Regions from separate parts of the Homo sapiens genome. Here region 2 is linked to region 1. Evidence: promoter capture Hi-C in human tissues and cell types (Jung and others, 2019). All regions are on one chromosome and are shown on one strand. Each heading gives the region's core, a stretch centred on a gene start or on the middle of the fragment in contact. The rest is flanking DNA. Distances are from core to core; before and after follow the strand shown.

Region 1 (2,700 bases), core at 196-2,695:
TTGCTGGAGGCCATGGGAAGGTCACTTCTCCCTGGACATGTTTCCTCGCCCCTTCCAGCTCTCACCATCCAAGAAGGAGGCATCTTAGGGGAGGAGAGGATAGAACTGACTCCACTCCAGCAGGCCTCCTCTTCCTTTCTGTCCCAACAGCCCCACCCCCCACTCCCAGTGATGTCATTTCGGCCACCTCATCACCAGCTTCTAACCCCCTTCCAGTCGCCCTTTCTGTCCTCAGATGGCAACTGGGGGCAGCGGAGATGTATCCCTCTTTATTCGGTCTCTCGCCTGGCACACTGGCCGGGATTCCCGAACCTGACCCCCTCCAAACCATGAGCCATTTGCAAGGGGACCGGGCAGGGGAGGGCTAAGCGACTCCTGACTCTCGAAGGCAGATGGGAGACTTGACTTTCTGCTTCTTCACCAGCAAAGACGCGGTACCACTTCTCCCTGAGTAGGAAGCGAGTTAGGGAAACTTTCTAGGAGTCTTAGAGCTCATAATTCCTGTCAGGGACGGGTGCTGCTGGATTTGGCGTGAGATAACTTCCCTCTACACACAAGCCACCCTCCCAGCAAAACATGACGAAGGAGCCGCCTCCCGGCCTCAGAAGACTCCTAGCTAGCGCTCAGGCCCCGTAACAATACCAGGGGCGGCCGAGCAGTTGCTGCCTCCAGGACGGGGTGGGCGAGCTGGATGACGGATGCCCGGTCGTCTGGGAAAATAGGAAGACCGCCCCCCGCCCCCCACTTTTGCAGGTCTCCGCCCGTCCGGTCCGCGTCTTCTCCGGCAGCGCCCCCTCTCTCCACGTCCCGGTTCTCCAGACGCGTCCCTCCTCCGAGTCGGGCGCGCCCGGTCCAGCCCAGCCCCTCCCGGGGTGATAGCGCCCAACAATGGAGAAGCGGACAGGGGTCACCGGGCGCTCCCCGCCTTCCTGTCCCGGTCGCCCCCGCGCTCACCCTGCTCCAGGTCCTGCTGGTCGTACCAGGACTCCTCTTCCTCCGCGGAGAAGTCCTCCATCCCGGCGGCTCTCCGCATGGCCCCGCGGGCGGCGGGCGGGTGCTGCGGCGGCGCAGCTCAGGGCCGGTGCGCGCGGCCCGGGACAATGCGGCTGAGGCGGGCCGGGCCTCCAGCGTCGGGAACTCGGGCTACAGAGCCCGCGCCGCGCCCCCTCGCCATCAACCGCTCGCCGGGAGCCCACGCGGGGCCTGGCGCTTTGCCAGGGTCCGGCCCGGCCGGGGTCCCGCAGAGCCGGGGGCACCGGGCTGCGGCGACACAAAGGGTGGAGTGGCAGGGACGGCGGGTGGGACAGTGGCAAGGAGGATCCGGGCCCGCAGGCGGGTCTGGGGCGCTAGGAGCGCGCGGGTGCCGTGGCGGGCGCCCCCTGCCCGGCTCGGGTCCGCGCTGCTCCTGGCCCGCCCGGCGACAACCGGAGCCGCCGCTGCATCTTGGCGGAGCCCGCCTGCAGCTTGCGGAGCTCGGCTCCGCGGGGTGGGGCCTGCCGCCGCCGACCAATCAGGAGATGTATGCAAAGCTGGAGGCGGGGCCGAGGGCGGGACCCTCCTGGTGTCTTGGTCTGGGAATTGCTTGATCAACCCTTTCGTCCTACTTCCCCCTACGACCTATTCAGTTTATGTCTCATGTCTAAAATTATGCTATTTTAGAAGTTGTCGTCTCTCCTAGATCTCCTGGAAGCAAGAATATTGTTTCTCTTTCACAGCTGGCTACTCACTTCCTAGAACAGGCTGCTCACCAGTCGGGCGCGATGCCTGACTCCTGTAATTCCAGCACCTTGGGAGGCCAAGGCGGGCAGATCGCCTGAGGTCAGGGGTTTCGAGACCAGCCTGGCCAACATGGCGAAACCCCGTCTCCATTAAAAATACAAAAATTAGCTGGGCATGGTGGCGCATGCCTACTCGGGAGGCTGAGGCAGGAGAATCGCTTGAACCCTGGAGGCAGAGGTTGCAGTGAGCCAAGATAGCGCCACTGCACTCCAGCCTGGGCGACAGAGGGAGACTCTGCCTCAAAAAACAAACAAACAAAAAACAAACAACATGCTGGTCATTGATACCTTCCATCGACATTCTTTGAATGAATGAATACTAATTTACAGTTGCCTTTGGGAACTGCGTGTTTAAGTGCTTGTGGCTAGAAACCACAGGCTGAAAGTGGCAAAGTTTGAGGGTGTGTTACCTGCATTCAAGGTTCTGTTTTCCTTTCCTTGGGACCCATATCCTATATCCAATTATACCCATTAAAACTATACACACTTGCATCTGTCCAAGCATTCTTTCCTTAGAAGAGTGTTCGGACTCAAGCATTCACGTAACTCATTTTTATTGGGACCCTAATGTGCTGGTGCCGTTGAGAATCTCTGAATAATGTTGTGATATACCCAACGAATGACTTGTATCCAGAATACAGAAAGAACATCTGCATAGTCATAAGAAAAAGGCACGCAACCCAGTAGAAAAGTGGGTAAAAGATTTGACCAGGTAATTCACAAAAAAGGATACACAAATAACTGAATAAATATGCAACAAGGTACTGAACTTCTTTAGCCATCAGAAAAATGCAAATGAAAACCACAATGAGGTATCACTACCCAATCACCAGAGTGGCTTTAGGGAAAAAAAAAAAAAAAAAAAAGGCCAGGCGTGGTGGTTCATGCCTATAATCCCAGAACTCTGGGGAGGCCGAGGTTG
Region 2 (2,705 bases), core at 105-2,604, 390 kb before region 1:
CTTGCTTTTGGGTTTGGGTGTTTGTTTGTTTGTTTGTTTTTTGAGACAGTCTCACTCTGTTGCCCAGGCTGAAATGCGGTGGCGAGATCTCAGCTCACTACAACCTCCGCCCTCCTGTGATTCTCCTGCCTCAGCCTCCCAAGTAGCTAGGATTACAGCTGCCCACCACCACGCTCAGCTCATTTTTGTATTTTTAGTAGAGACGGTGTTTCACCATGTTGGTCAGGCTGGTCTCGAACTCCTGACTGCAGGTGATCCTCCCCCCCACCTCGGCCTCCCAAAGTGCTGGAATTACAGGCGTGAGCCACTGCACCTGGCCTGGGTTTGGGATTTATATTGTCAACTGAAACTAAGACTATTGAGGCAGAAATGATTTCATAAAGGTTTATTGGAAGGCCTGGCAAATGAGAATCGACCTGGGAAGACACACCAGCAGACTTGGGGGTTGTTCTGAAGTCTGTCACAAGGTGAAAGATGTTTTTGTTTTGCTGTTTGTTTCTTCGTGGGTTGTTTTCTTTTTTAGAGTCTTACTCTCTTGCCCAGGCTAGAGTGTAGTGTCATGATCTTGGCTCACTGCAACCTCTGCCTCCCGGGTTCAAGCAGTTCTACCACCTCAGCCTCCCTAGTAGCTGGGACTACAGGCGTGTGCCACCATACCCGGCTAATTTTTGTACTTTTAGTAGAGACAGGGTTTTGCCATGTTGGCCAGGCTGGTCTCTAACTCTTGACCTGAAGTGATCCACCTGCCTCAGCCTCCCAAAGTACTGGGATTACAGGCGTGAACTACCACACCCAGCCTTTTTTTTTTTTTTTTTTTTTTTTTTTCTGAGACAGGGTCTCGCTCTGTTGCCTGGGCTGGAGTGCAGCCTCAACTTCCTAGGCTCAAGCACTTCATCCACTTCAGCCTCCCGAGTAGCTGGGACAGCAGGTGAGCACCACCATGCCCAGCTAACTTTTTGTATTTTGTAGAAACAAGATCCCGCCATGTTGCCCAGGCTGATCTCGAACTCATGGCCTCAAGCAGTCCTCCTGCCTTGACCTCCCAAAGTGTTGGGATTACAGGCATGAACCACTCTGCCTGGCCACTTTTTGTTTGCAATAAACATGGGGTCTCATTCTGTCACCCCAGGCTGGAGTACGGTGGCCCCACCATAGTTCATTGCAGCCTCGAACTCCTGGGCTCAAGTGATCATCTCACCTCAGTCTCCTCAGTAGCTGGGACTACAGATGCGCACCACCACACCCTGTATTATATTTAAAAATGTAACTTTTAATATTTTTTTTTTGTAGCGGGGGGTCACTATGTTGCCCAGGCTGGTCTCGAGTGATCCTCCCATCTCAGCCTCCCAAGTAGCTCGGATTATAGATGTGAGTCACTGGGCCCAGCTATGAAGGTCTGTCTTTATGTTTTTGAGACAGGGTCTGGCTCTCTTACCCAGGCTGGAGTGCAGAGGTACAATCATGGCTCAGTACAGCCCCAACATTCCAGGCTCAGTTGATCCTCCCACCCTAGTCTCTGGAACTACAGGTATCCACCACCATGCCCAACTAGTTTTTGTTTGTTTGTTTGTTTTGTTTTGTTTTGTAGGGATGGAGTCTCATTATGTTGCCCAGGCTTGTCTCAAACTTCTGGGATTAAGGGATCCTCTCACCTTGGCCTCCCAAAGTGCTGGGATTACAGATTACAGGTGTAAGCCACCTTGCCTGGCCTGTGAAAGGTTTTTAGGAAAGTTTAAAAGAAGGAAGGGTACTCCTCCTCATACCAGAGTTGTCTTTTCATTGGATGGTACAATATGTAAGTTATAATCGTTGGTTACAAATTATGTTATACAGGCTAAAAATGTCTATGTGCAAGACAATCAGTAGAAGTTCATGCTTCACTAATCTTTTTTTTTTTTTTTTGAAACAGAGTCTCCCTCTGTTGCCCAGGCTGAAATGCAGCAGTGCAGTCTCAGCTCACTGCAGCCTCCACCTCCCGCATTCAAGAGATTTTCTTGCCTCAGCCTCCTGAGTAGCTGGGATTACAGGAGCATGCCACCAGGTCGGGTTAAAAAATTTTTTTTTTTTTTTTTTTTTTTGAGACAGAGTCTCTGTCTGTCACCCAGGCTGGAGTGCAGTGGCACAATCTCGGCTCACTGCAACGTCTGCCTCCCAGGTTCAAGCAATTCTCCTGCCTCAGCCTCCCAAGTAGCTGGGACTATATAGGCGCATGCCGACACGCCTGGCTGATTTCTTGTATTTCAATAGAGATGGGGTTTAACCGTGTTGCCTAGGCTGGTCTCAAACTCCTGAGCTCAGCCAATCCGCCTGCCTTGGCCTCCCAAAGTGCTGGGATTACAGGCGTGAGCCACTGCGCTCATGCAGGCCCCGGTAATTTTTTTTTTTTTTTTTTTTTTCTGAGACGGAGTCTTGCTCTGTCGCCCAGGCTGGAGTGCAGTGGCGCAATCTTGGCTCACTGCAACCTCTGCCTCCTGGGTTCACGCCATTCTCCTGCCTCAGCCTCCCGAGTAGCTGGGACTACAGGCGCCCACCACCACGCCCGGCTAAATTTTTGTATTTTTAGTAGATACAGGGTTTCACCGTGTTAGCCAGGATGGTCTCGATCTCCTGACCTCGTGATCCACCTGCCTCTGCCTCCCAAAGTGTTGGGATTACAGGCTTGAGCCACTGCGCCCGGCCAGTCCCCAGTACTTTTTGTATATTTG

What was found. The method cuts DNA at HindIII sites, captures the fragments that hold promoters and counts their contacts. A contact is called where the count stands out against the background at its distance.
Region 2: a fragment that was not itself captured here is called in contact with the fragment with the promoter of CDR2L in region 1 in 1 of the 25 tissues and cell types used here (aorta).

Annotation. Positions count from the first base shown.
Region 1 is chr17:74,986,377-74,989,076 of GRCh38, reverse strand. It overlaps CDR2L (cerebellar degeneration related protein 2 like), which reads right to left and starts at 1,445. Exons shown (of 5, transcript NM_014603.3): 1 at 955-1,445. The coding sequence starts at 1,033. RefSeq lists silencers at 1,350-1,439, 1,460-1,539 and an enhancer at 1,106-1,607. The HindIII fragment of the contact is 16,458 bases long and covers 1-2,700 here.
Region 2 is chr17:75,375,718-75,378,422 of GRCh38, reverse strand. The region is part of intron 2 of GRB2 (growth factor receptor bound protein 2); the gene reads left to right. Among named protein-coding and RNA genes, the nearest start is that of GRB2, 29 kb to the left of the region's middle. The HindIII fragment of the contact is 7,732 bases long and covers 1-2,705 here.